3 separate regions of the Homo sapiens genome follow, and regions 2 and 3 are each linked to region 1. The links are contacts of gene promoters, found by promoter capture Hi-C in human tissues and cell types (Jung and others, 2019). All regions are on one chromosome and are shown on one strand. Each heading gives the region's core, a stretch centred on a gene start or on the middle of the fragment in contact. The rest is flanking DNA. Distances are from core to core; before and after follow the strand shown.

Region 1 (4,333 bases), core at 1,274-3,773:
AGATGCCAAACAGGAAGTCTCCAGTATCTGGAATCCTTAATACATCACTCTGCATCTTGCTGATCTTTCACAAAACCAAGGTCATACCCCAGAACAGCCCTGTCCTTGTAAGGGCCCTCTGTAAGCCCTGGGAGCTGAGAATGGGTCAAAGGGACTTGCCCTCCCCAACCCTGCTGCTGGCCCTCATCCCCACAAGATGTCTCAGTAAGCTTCCAAACCCACCCTGGGAAGCAGTTCTGTGTTTGTGGCAAAGGATAAACATGAGAGAGGGGCCTAGCCCCTGTTCCAGGCTCTGTACTGCCATCCCCAACATTCCAGGGATCCAGTCTACTCTGCCTATCTGACATGGGGAGTGTAGGGTAGCAGCTATCAAACCAGCTACCCCCAGCCCTCCCCTGGCCCTGGCACACGTAGTCCATCAGGCTACATAGGAGTCCCGGAGCTGAGATGAACTCATTCCACCATGGGTTTGAGAAGCTTCCCTGATGGGCACAGACAGGTGGGCACAGAGGTCAGCAAAGCCCTCCAGGTGGTATGAGGTGTGCCAGAGTGCAGGGAGAGGAGACAGGGGGATAGAAAGACATGAAGACACACACACACACACACACACACACACACACACACACACAGAGAGAGAGAGAAAGAAAGGAATGGGGAAAGAGAGGAGCTCAGAGAGGAACGGAGAGGCAGACAGAGGGAAACAACGCAGAAAGAAACAGAGCCAAAGCCAGAGTGTGGGGGGAGCCGGAGGAAGAAACAAAAACACACACATGTGGAGTCGGAACGACACAGGCAGAGAGGCACAGAGTCGCAGCAATCCAGACAGAAAGAGACACGCAGAAAGAAACAGACAGTGACAGAGAAGATGGTAGCCTCTCTGCCCTCCCCAAACACCTTGCCCCACTGGTCCTGGCTGGCGGCAGGGGACTCACAGGCCCTTGACCTATGCCCAGTAGGGGAAGAGACAGGACTTTTCCTCAGAGGCCTTCAATGAGACCCCATTCCCAAAAAGGTTGGGTCTGACACACAGCAGCCATGGTGTCCACGGCCCCCACTCCCACCCCTGGCACTCCTAGATGGGATCACGCCAAGGGTCTATGAGGAAGCCCCTAGGCCCCCAGGGCCCATCCTTCCTGGTAAGACCAGATGACACTTCCAAATTTATCCCGTTATTTCTGTCCTGAACTGGGCTGGGACAGGATGTTTCCTAAAGGATAAGGACTAGGACGGGGCGGGGGTGTCTGGCACAGGCCCGGCAGCTCTGGGCCCTTCTTCCCCCTGTGGTCAGAATAGACCAGCTGGAGATACGCACCCCAACCCCCGCAGCAGGGCTACTCTTAGGGAAACAGGAACTGGGACTGCAGCTTCCACTGGAAGGAAATGGGGCCACGATCAGACCAGGAGAAGCTATAAGAACTCACTTCATCACAATGTGAGCAGTCCCCACTCCAGGCTGGGAACAAGTAGGGATGGAACCCATTTTCAAAGCAAGAAAGTTTGAGAAGTCAGGGTTGGGGAGTGGAGCAGACAGTGTCAGCAGGGGCATGGGTCCTTGGTTCAAATAAGGTTGGTAGAGACTTAAGAAGAGCTTAGAGGGTGGCTGAACACAGGCTAGTGAAAGACACTGAAGTACCAAAGCTTGGGTGTTACATAGGGGATGGAGGTGTCTATGGCTCTAGGGTCCAAGTTGGGGGGTTGAGGACCTGGAGAATGGCTAGGGAAACAGGTGGTGTCCAAGGTGGTCCAGGTCTCAGTGGTGGCTCCAACGGGGGGCAAGGCGCGGGGTTGGGGGAAGAAGGAAGGGAGGGAGGGAGGGAGGGAGGGAGGGAGGGAGGGAGGTTGGTTGTGGGGTCCTAGGAATCCAGAGAAGGGGCATATTAAGGATCTGGGGTCTCAGGGATTTGAATAATTGGCCAGGATTCGGTGGGGCTCAGGGTCGCCATTCAGATGGCGGACTCGATACTGAAGGGTCTGGGGTCCTGAGGAGTCTCAGTCCCAGAGTTAGGCTTTTGGTCGATCGGGAGTTGGTCTGTCAAGGGCCTGGTCTTTTGTGGGTGATGCTGACACTTGGGGTCTCAGTCCCCGTGGGTCCGGGGGTCTCAGGGTCAGGTTCTCAAACTCCCTGTCTGATAGAGGTCCTGGCCTCGGGTCCCGGAGAGGGTGGGGTCCCTGGGTCGGTTCCGCGGGGCTGTGAAGGGGTCCTGCCCCAGGGGCGCGGAGGCCGGGCGGGAAGGGGCGCACTCACCTGCAGGCGGCGCAGGTAGGCTGGCGGCACGTAGCCCGTCTCACCACTGCGCGCCCGCGCGGCCAGCCACCAGTGCGCGCTGCTTCGCTCTAGCACCAGGAAGGTCTCGCCCGCGGCGAACGCCAGCGCGTTGGGCTCCGCCGAGCGGAACGCGTACAGCGCGCGGTACATGAGGCCGGGCAGGGCAGGTGCAGGGAAGGTGGCAAGGGCTGCGGCGCCACAACGCCAGGCCGGGAGCGCCGAGCCGCGCCGCGGTTGTCCCGCCCCGTGACACACTACGCAGGCGCGCGCGCGCCCGCCCGCCGAAGCCCCGCCCCGGGCTGTATCGTTCCACGCATCGGAGAGCAGCGCCCCCGCGCGGCCCCAAGAGGTGCGGCGGGGCTGGGGTCGACAGCTCGCTGTCTCCTCTGGTCCCTCCCGGCTCCAGGCCCCTCATCCCCGGACACCGCACCCTCACTCCTCACCCCGGCCTCAGTTTCACCCGTCCAGCCCTCTGCTCCCTTTCCCCGCTTAAGTCCGAGCGCTGCGTCCCGTCCTACCTCCCGGTGAAAGCGCGCTCCGCTCGTAGCGGGTGCGCCCCTACCGCCCTGGGGCAGTGGGTCCCATCTACTAATTGCAAGGACGGCGACCTCGAAAGGATGATCTTGCTGATCCGACACTTGGAAGCCCCCGCGGGGCCCGGCTCTCGGTGTGTCTAGGCCTCACCACCTGTCTTCACCGAGTGCCGGTGGTGGCCAGTGGGGAGCAAGTGTGGGGAGAAGGGGGCCACAAAAGCAGAAACCAGGCGGGGCTATTCCCTGTCTAAAGCCCTCCCATCTTTGCTCCCCACCCCTACTCCTCCTCTCTCTTCAGCTATGGCTGGTTTTCTCTATATTGGGCCTTTGCATATTCTGTTCCCTCTACCTGGGACAATTTTCCCTTCCCTCTCCTATAGTATTTGTCCGTCAAGCTCCCACCCCCATCAATCGCTATCATCTTGCTGTGTTTTATTGTCTTTATAGGACTTAAGATTTGCGATGCCCCTTTCTGAGAGCATAGAGGAGGGCTGAAAGAGGGAGTGGGGTACCACGGTGGCCTTAAGAGCCTATTTGATCCACCCAGCTTTCCAGTCAGCCCAGATCTCCAGATATATGAAATCCGTGTAATAAGAGTGCCTGGAAGACCCAGGGAAGAGGCCCTCAGGGTCCTGGAGAGACTGTGGCTGAGAATGGTCCAGCTACGCTCCACAGGAAGCCCGAGCCCAGGAAGCAGGAGGCGTGTACAGGCCAGTGTGTGCAAGTTTTCTATTTTTATCTGTATTTATTTTTTGAGACAGGGTCTTGCTCTGTCGTCCAGGCTGGAGTGCAGTGGGATGATCAAGCTCATTGCAGCCTTGATCTTCCAGGCTCAAGCCTACTGTCTCTGGGACTACAGGCATGCACCACCACACTCAGCTTTTTTTTTTTTTTTTTTTTTTTTTTTTTTTAGTAGAGACAAGGTCTTGCTATGTTGCTCTGGCTAGTCTCAAATTCCCGGACTCAAGCAGTCCTCCCAGTGTTGGGATTATGGGTGTCTGTCTGACCCAGTTGCCTATTTTTAGGCCTAAAGTACATAGGCCTAGTGTGAGGTTCAGGTGAGGGGTAGAACTGCTAGAAACTGACATCCAGACCCTGCCTTCTCTGCACCAGGTCTGGCTCTTCAGTTCAAGACCTCTCTTGGCCCTTCCTCCTCCCAGAAGCCCTCCTGGGGCAGGGCAGAATCTCGGGGTCTGTGCTGTCTGGGACTGCCTGAAGAATAAGACTGGTGAAATTGCAATGGGGACTAGGGCTGGGCAGGAGTGGTGACAGGTGGTGTGGCCAAGAGGACCACCCTACCTGCCCAAACACGCCTTTTTATGGTACCCTCCATCACCTGGGCCCCTTTACAACACAGTCCATGGCTGCCAATGGACCAGACCCGAGGCTAGAGACCCTAGTATTGCTTCCAGGACATCTATCACAATAGCCAGCCAATTAGCTGCTGCCAGTGGCATAGGAGGGATTAAAAGCTGGACCCAAGGTTTGGATCACCTGCTATCTAATTGGCTTAAGCTGCATACGGCCCATGAGA
Region 2 (4,333 bases), core at 1,244-3,743, 220 kb after region 1:
GGTTTCACCATGTTAGCCAGGATGGTCTCGATCTCCTGACCTCGTGAATCTGCCCACCTACGGCCTCCCAAAGTGCTGGGATTATAGGCGTGAGCCACTGCGCCTGGCCAGAAATTTTTGAAAAAGACCAATAAGGGCTTCAACCTGAGAAAGCTGATTGAAAGAAAAAAAATCAACGAAGGCATCTTGTTCTACCATACAGCAAAAAGAAACCGGCCAGTCATGGTGGCTCACACCTGTAATCCCAGCACTTTAGGAGGCCGAGGCGTGTGGATCACCTGAGGTAAGGAATTCGAGACCAGCCTGGCAACATGGCGAAAACCCATCTCTACTAAAAATACAAAAAGTAGCGGGACATGGTGGCACCCGCCTGTAGTCCCAGCTACTCGGGAGACTGAAGCAGGAGAATTGCTTGAACTCGGGAGGTGGAGGTTACAGTGAGCCGAGATCACACCAGAGCACTCCAGCCTGGGTGACGGAGCGAGACTGCATCTCTAAATAAAAAATTGGCCGGGTACGGTGGCTCATGCCTGTAATTCCAGCACCTTGGGAGGCCGAGGCAGGCGGATCACTTGAGGTTGGGTGTGTGAGGCCAGCCTGGCCAACATGGTGAAACCCTGTCTCTACTAAAAATATAAAAATTAGCCTGGCATGGTGGCGGGTGCCTGTATTCCCAACTACTTGGGAGGCTGAGACAGGAGAATTGCTTGAACCCAGGTGGTAGAGATTGCAGTGAGCTGAGATCGTGCCACTGCACTTCAGCCTGGGTGACAGAGTAAGATTCCATCTCAAAAATAAAATAAATAAATAAATAAAATAGAAAACAATTTTTAAAAAAGAAACCATGAAGCTGAAATTAAAACATTGTAGTATTGGACTGGGAATAGGCAAACAGACCTTCAAAACAGAACGAAGAGCCCAGATAACAAATCCATGGGAGACTGAGGCAGGATTGCTTTTTTTTTTTTTTTTTTTTTTTTTAGAAAGAGGCTCACTCTTTCCCCCAGGCTGGAATGCAGTAGCAGGATCTTGGCTCACTGCAACCTCCGCCTCCCAGGTTCAAGTGATTCTTCTGTCTCAGCTCCCCCAAGTAACCAGGACTCCAGGCACGTGCCACCACGCCTGGCTAATTTTTGTATTTTTTGGTAAAGATGGGGTTTCACTATGTTGGCCAGACTGGTCTTGAACTCCTTACCTCAGGTGATCTTTCCGCCTCAACCTCCCAAAGTGCTGGGATTACAGGCGTGAGCCACTGTGCCCAGCTGAGGTAGTATTGCTTTAACCCAGGAGGCAGGGGTTGCAGTGAGCCAAGATAGCACCACTGCACTCCAGCCTAGGTGACAGAGCATCACCTAGGGTCTTTTGAGACAGGGTCTTGCTCTGTTACCTAGGCTTGTCTCCTAGGCTAGGCCTCAGAAAAAAATTAAATAAATCAATAAATAAAATATTAGCATTTTGTACATATCTTTCAGGGCCCTTTCAATGAGTTAACATACATATTTATATATACAGCTATACACACCTACACACACACTTACACAAACTGTTTTCATTGATAAAAGGCTATATTGTAAATACCAGTTTGCTTTTTTCACTCAGTAGAGGCTGCTATTATTCTCCTAATTTCACAAATGAGCAAACTAAGTCACAGAGAGGTTAAGGTTCCCTGCCCAAGGTCACATGGACAGGAAGATGTGGAGTTGGGATTCTCTTTAAAGTATTATTTTAATTTTAGTTTTATTTTTTTGAGACAGGGTCTTGCTCTGTCACCTAGGCTGGAGTGCAGTGGCACAATCTCAGCTCACTGCAACCTCCACTTCCTGAGCTGAAGCCATTCTCCCATCTCAGCCCCACTAGTAGCTGGGACTACAGGTGTGCACCACCATGCCTGGTTAATTTTTTTTTTTTTTTTTGAGATGGAGTTTTGCTCTTGTCACCCAGGCTGGAGTGCAGTGGCACAATCTCAGCTCACTGCAACCTCTGCCTCCCAGGTTCAAGCGATTCTCCTGCCTCAGCCTCCTGAGTAGGTGGGATTACAAATACCCGACACCACGCCTGGCTAATTTTTGTATTTTTAGTAGAGACAGGGTTTCACCATGTTGGCCAGGCTTGTCTCAAACTCCTGACTTCAGGTGATCCACCTGCCTTGTCCTCCCAAGGTGCTAGGATTATAGGCATGAGCCACCGTCCCGGCCGAGGTTACTTTTTGTATTTTTTGTAGAGATGGGGTTTCCCTATGTTGCCAAGGCTAGTCTTGAACTCCTGAGCTCAAGTGATCCTCCTGTCTTGGCATCCCAAAGTGCTGGGATTACAGGAGTGACCCACTCTCCCAAGCCTCAATTTTGATTAATTAATTATTTTTGAGACAGGGTATCCCTATGTTGCCCAGGGTGGTCTCGAACTCCTGGACTCAAGCAATCATCCCACCTCAGCTTCCTGAAGTGCTGGAATTACAGGCATGAGCCACTGTACCCGGTCAAGGGTTTCTAATCCTAGCTGTCTGGCTCTAGACTACGCTTTGTTGGTCCGTAAGGCCAAAGCTTGTGATAGAGCTTTAGAGGATGTTGAAAAGAAAAATGATATGTTTTGTACTTTAAAAATATATATATTTTTTGAGACAGAGTTTCGCTCTTGTTGCCTAGGCTGAAGTGCAATAGTGTAATCTTGGCTCACCGCAACCTCTGCATCCCAGGTTCAAGCGATTCTCCTGCCTCAGCCTCCCGAGTAGCTGGGATTACAGGCATGTGCCACCACGCCCGTTAATTTTGTATTTTTAGTAGAGACGGGGTTTTGCCAGGTTGGCCAGGCTGGTCTTGATCTCCTGAGGTGGCTCACACCCATAATCCCAGCACTTTGGGAGGCTGAGGTGGGTGGATCACCTGAGGTCAGGAGTTCCAGACCAGCCTGGCCAACATGGTGAAAACCCATGTCTACTAAAAATAACAAAAATTAGCCGGGCGTGGTGGCAGGCGCCTGTAATCCCAGCAATTTAGGAGGCTAAGGCAGGAGAATCGCTTGAATCTGTGAGGCAGAGGTTGCGGTGAGCCAAGATCATGCCATTGAACTCCAGCCTGGGCAACAGGGCGAGACTCCGTCTCAAAAAAAAAAAAAAAAAAGAAAAATCCCACCTTCTATCTTGAAAAAAATAAATCTTTTTTAAAAAAAGAATAAAAATAAAATGTACTGGGCCGGGCACGGTCGCTCACGCCTGGAATCCCAGCACTTTAGGAGGCCAAGGTGGGAAGATTACCTGAGGTCAGGAGTTTGAGACCAGCCTGGCAAACATGGCGAAACACCATCTCTACTAAAAATACAAAATTAGCCAGGCATGGTGGTGCATGCCTGTAGTCCCAGCTACTCGGGAGAATGAGGCAGGAGAATCGCCTGAACCTGGGAGGTGGAGGTTGCAGTGAGTCGAGATTGTACCATTGCACTCCAGCCTGGGCGGCAAGAGCAAAACTCTGCCTCGAAAAATAAAAATAAATAAATAAGTAAATAAATAATAAAATGTACTGCACTCCAACATGGGTGACAGAGTGAGATCCTGTCTCTACAAAAGTAAAAAATATTTTAAAGCAGGGCGACTAGTTAAGGGACTACTGCTCACATCCAAAGACACATTGAGGGTGGCTTGGAATAGAGCTGCAGGTAGTGGTAAGTGCTAAAGTCAGGACATATCTCAGAGGTATAGCTCATGGGAATTGCTTGTGGACTGAATGTGAAATTTGGAAGAGGAAAGCTCATGGAAAACTTGTGATTTGTTTTTTCTTTCTTTCTTTTTTTTTTGAGACAGAGTCTTGCTCTGTCGCCCAGGCTGGAGTGCAGTGGTGCAATCTTGGTTCACTGCAACCTCCTGGGTTCAAGCAATTCTCCTGCCTCAGCCTCCCGAGTAGCTGGGATTACAGGTGCCCACCACCATGCCCAGTTAATTTTTGTATTTTTAGTAGAGACAGGGTTTTGCTATCTTGGCCAGGCTGGTCTTGAACTCCTGACCTCAGGTGATCTGCCCACCTCGGCCTCCCAAAGTGCTGGGATTACAGGCGTGAGCCACCATGCCTGGCCAAATTTGTGAATTTTTGGCCTGAGTAAATGGAGAGAGAGTGGTATTGAGCTGGGAAATATTGGGGGAGTGGCAGGTTTGGAGGTAAATTTGAGAATTTTGTTTTATTTAAGACATGTTAAATTCGAGTGCCGATATGACATCCAAATGGAGGTATTGAATGGACAACTGCATATACTGAGTGTGAAGTATAGGAAATTTGGTAGGATTAGAAATGAAAACCTGGAAGTCATCAGTATACGGGAGGTCCTAAGGCAAAGAGGTTGAATGAGA
Region 3 (4,333 bases), core at 1,031-3,530, 150 kb before region 1:
CGAGGTGGGATCACCTGAGGTCAGGAGTTCAAGACCAGCCTGACCAACATGGAGAAACTCCGTCTCTACTAAAAATACAAAATTAGCTGGGCTTGGTGGCTCATTCCTGTAATCCCAGCTACTCGGGAGGCTGAGGCAAGAGAATCACTTGAACCCGGGAAGCAGAAATTTTTTTTTTTTTTTTTTAATTTTGAGAGGGAGTTTTGCTCTTGTTACCCAGGCTGGAGTGCAGTGGCGTGATCTCAGCTCACCACAACCTCCGCCTCCCAGGTCTCCAACTCCTGACCTCAGGTGATCTGCCCACCTTGGCCTCCCAAAGTGCTTGGATTACAGGCATGAGCCACCGCACCCGGCCAAAAAAAAATTTTTTTTTTAAATTTAGCTGGGTATGGTGATGTGTGCCTGTAGTCCTAGCTACTCGGGAGGCTAAGATGGGAGGATTACTTGAACCTGGGAGGTCAAGGCTGCAGTGAGCCATGATGGTGCCATTGCACTCCAGCCAGGACAACAGAGCAAGACCCTGTCACTTAAAAAAAAGAAAAAATATATGGACAGAAAGCAGGAATAACAAATCAAAACCAAGATGCAATACCACACCCATTAGGATGGCTACTATTAAAAAAAGAAAAGAAAAGAAAACAACAAGTGTTGACAAGGATGTGGAGAAATTGGAACCTGTGTGTACTTCTGGTAGAAATGTAAAATGATGCAGCTGCTATGGGAAACAGTACAGCAGTTCCTCAAAAAAATAAAAACAGAGGCCGGGTGCGGTGGCTCACGCCTGTAATCCCAGCACTCTGGGAGGCCGAGGCGGGTGGATTGCCTGAGGTTGGGAGTTTGAGACCAGTCTGGCCAACATGGTGAAACCCTGTCTCTACTAAAAATACAAAAAAAATTAGCTAGGCATCGTGGTGTGGGCCTGTAATCCCAGCTACTCAGGAGGCTGAGGCAGGGGAATTGCTTGAACCAGGGAGGTGGAGGTTGCAGTGAGCTGAGATCATGCCACTGCCCTCCAGCCTGGGCGACAGAGCGAGATTCCGTTTCAAAATAAATAAATAAATAAATAAATAATAAAAACAGAATTACCATAGGATCTGGCAATTCCACTTCTAGGTCTATACCAAAAAGAATTGAATTGAGAGCAGGGTCTCAAAGAGACATTTGTATCCATGTTCACAGCTGCATTATCCACAATAGCTAAAAAGTGGAAGCTGTCCAAGTGTCCATTGGCAGATGAATGGATACACGAAATGTGGTATACAATAGAATCTTATTCTGCCTTAGAAAGGAAGAAAATTCTTAAGGCTGGGTGTGATGGTTCACATTTGTAATCCTAGCACTTTGAGAGGCCAAAGTGGTAGAATCGCTTGAGGCTAGGAGTTTGAGACCAACCTGGGCAATATAGTGAGCCTCCCTTCTCTACAAAAAATAAAAAAATTATCTAGGCATGGTGGTGTGCACTTGTTAGTCCCAGCTACTAGGGAGGCAAGAGAATCGTTGAGTCTAGGAGTTTGAGGCTGCAGTGATTTCCACATTGCACTGTAGCCTGGGTGACAGAGTGAGATGCTGTCTTAAAAAATAAACAGGAAGGAAACTCTTGCACAAGCTACAACATGGATGAACCTTGAGGATATTATGCTAACTAAAGTAACCAGTTACAAAAAGACAAATACTATATGATTTCACTTATATGAGGTATATAAAGTAGTCAAAGTCATAAAGACAGAAAGTGGTTGCCAGGGGCTGGGAGTAGCAAATAGAGTTATTGTTTTTCTTTTTAAAATTTTTTTAGAGATGGGGTCTCACTATGTTGTCCAGGCTGGAGTGCAAGGGCCAATCGTGAATGAAATCATAGCACACCACAGCCTCAAACTCATGGGCTCAAGCAATCCTCCCACCTCAGCCTCCCAAGTACCTGGGACTATAGGTGTGAGCCAGCACATCTGGCTTGAGTTATTGTTCAGTGGGTACAGAGTTTCTGTTTTACAAGATTAAAAGAGTTCTGGAGATGCATGGTGGTGAGAGTTGCATAACAATGTAAATGTACTTCATACTCCTGAAACGTACACTTCAAAACAGCTATGATGGTAAATTTTATGTTATGCATATTTTACCACAGTAAAAAAAAATGGAAAAACAAAAGCAGGGGTGGTAATATTCAAATTAGTCAAAGTATATATCCACAGAAAAAGCTTTTCATATTGAAATGGGAACCACCCATAATAAAGACCAAGCCATGATGGAGCAACTGGTACCAGATTTGCTCTGGCCCCAACAAAAACAACTATTATTAAAAAAGGACAAATTGGCAGGGCGCTGTGGCTGACACCTGTAATCCTAGAACTTTGGGAGGTTGAGGTGGGTGGATTGCCTGAGGTCAGGAATTCAAGACCAGCCTGGCCAACGTGGTGAAACCCTGTCTCTACTAAAAATACAAAAATTAGTTGGTGTGGTGGCGGGTGCCTATAATCCCAGCTACTCTGGAGGCTGAGGCACAAGAATCGCTTGAACCCGGGAGACGAAGGTGGCAGTGAGCCGAGATCGTGCCATTGCACTCCAGCCTGGACAACAGGAGCAAACCTCCGTCTCAAAAAAATAAATAAATAAAGGGACAAATCAAACAACTGTTTTTAGACACGAGACTAGGCAGGACTGTGATCCTTGAGAGAAGGGAAGCAAGCTGAGGGGAGGAGGCAGCAGCTTACTGCCCAGAGGCACTTCCTGGACTGCAGAGCCAAGCATAATGAAGAAATAATGGAAGATTCAAAAAAGGAACAAAATGAAATTCCTGGAGCTTCAAAACACCACATCTGATATGAAAAGTTCACTGGATGGGTTTAATAAAAATGCAGAAGTAAAGATAAGTGAATTTGAAGACATAGCAGTAGAAACTATCTAAATTAAAGCTCGGAAGGAAAAAAAGACAGAGAAGAAATGAACAGAAGAAATTAAAAAACCAGAAGTTCAGTGACCTGTGGGATGATACCAAACAGTCTAACACACACAGAGTGGGAGTCCAGGATGGGAGAAGGGGTGGCAGAAAATACCTTTGAAGAAATGATGGCCAACAATTCTTCACATTTTATATTTAGAAACCCAGAAATCCGAGAATCTCAATAAACCCCAAGGATGATAAACATAAAGAAAACCATACTGAGATACATCATAATCAAATTGCTAAAAATCAGCAATAAAGAGAAAATATTCCAGCCTAGGCAACATCATGAGACTCCGTCTCTACAAAAATTAGAAAAGATTAGCCTGGCATGGTGGCAAGTGCCTGTAGTCCCAGCTAGTCAGGAGGTTGAGATGGGAGGATGGCTTGAGCCCAGGAAGTTGAGGCTACAGTGAGCTATGATTGCACCACAGCACTCCAGCTTGGGTGACAGAGTAAGATCTTGTCTTGAAAAAAAAAAAAAAAAGAAGAAAAGAAAATATTAAAGGCAGTCAGAGAAAAAGGAGGTAACATTATATCCAGAAGAGCAAAGATGAGAATGACAACAGACTTCTCTTAGAAACAATGCAACCCAGAAGTCAGCAGAAGAGCATTTTTTTTTTTTTGAGACAGAACATCACTCTGTTGCCCAGGCTGGAGTGCAGTGGCACAATCTCAGCCCACTGCAACCTCTGTCTCCTGGGTTCAAGCAATTCTCCTGCCTCAGCCTCCCGAGTACGTGGGATTACAGGTACCCACCACCATGCCTGGCTAATTTTTGTATTTTCAGTAGAGATGGGGTTTCACCATGTTGGCCAGGCTGGACTCAAACTCCTGACTTGAGGTGATCCGCCCGCCTCAGCCTCCCAAAGTGCTGGGATTACAAGGGTGAGCCACCGCACCTGGCGAGAACAGCATCTTTAAAGAGACAAAGGCCGTGCTGGTTCACCTCATTTGTGTCTCCAGATCCCTGGGAGGTTGGCTATGGCTGACTGCAGCTACCAAGCTCCCGTGGCCGCTGATTTCTTGTTGAGCTAGACCATGAGGAACCCTAGCAGGAGGCCACAGGGAGGGAGGAGAGTGAGGTTGAGGTGTCAACTCCCAGGCTCACTCCTGAGAATGGTCTAGGGCTCACCCAAGGTCCCATCCTGTTAGGCTGCCTTTTCCTCTCTGCTCCCAGCCCCTAGGTTCCTGTATCCTTTCTCTCTCCTCTCCTTTGCCCAAGGGGAGCAATGGTCACTGTTGTTACAATATGATGCAGCAGCCCTGCGGTATCTGGGAGGTAGACAGGGAGGGAGGGACGGTAACTACCGCATCGATCTCGTTGAGGACCTTCCACTGTTCATAGGGCACACCCAGTGCCTCAGCCGTCTGGATTGTCCTCTTCATCTGGCTTGT

What was found. The method cuts DNA at HindIII sites, captures the fragments that hold promoters and counts their contacts. A contact is called where the count stands out against the background at its distance.
Region 2: a contact is called between a fragment that was not itself captured here and the fragment with the promoter of NCKIPSD in region 1, in 1 of the 25 tissues and cell types used here (dorsolateral prefrontal cortex).
Region 3: a fragment that was not itself captured here is called in contact with the fragment with the promoter of NCKIPSD in region 1 in 1 of the 25 tissues and cell types used here (hippocampus).

Annotation. Positions count from the first base shown.
Region 1 is chr3:48,683,392-48,687,724 of GRCh38, forward strand. It overlaps NCKIPSD (NCK interacting protein with SH3 domain), which reads right to left and starts at 2,524. Exons shown (of 13, transcript NM_016453.4): 1 at 2,246-2,524. The coding sequence starts at 2,416. RefSeq lists silencers at 2,032-2,751, 2,145-2,439 and enhancers at 2,636-3,367, 2,962-3,031. The HindIII fragment of the contact is 9,717 bases long and covers 1,058-4,333 here.
Region 2 is chr3:48,906,711-48,911,043 of GRCh38, forward strand. No RefSeq gene overlaps it. Among named protein-coding and RNA genes, the nearest start is that of ARIH2, 10 kb to the right of the region's middle. The HindIII fragment of the contact is 4,450 bases long and covers 269-4,333 here.
Region 3 is chr3:48,531,266-48,535,598 of GRCh38, forward strand. It overlaps PFKFB4 (6-phosphofructo-2-kinase/fructose-2,6-biphosphatase 4), which reads right to left. Exons shown (of 14, transcript NM_004567.4): 9 at 4,247-4,333. Among named protein-coding and RNA genes, the nearest start is that of MIR6823, 17 kb to the right of the region's middle. The HindIII fragment of the contact is 9,044 bases long and covers 1-4,333 here.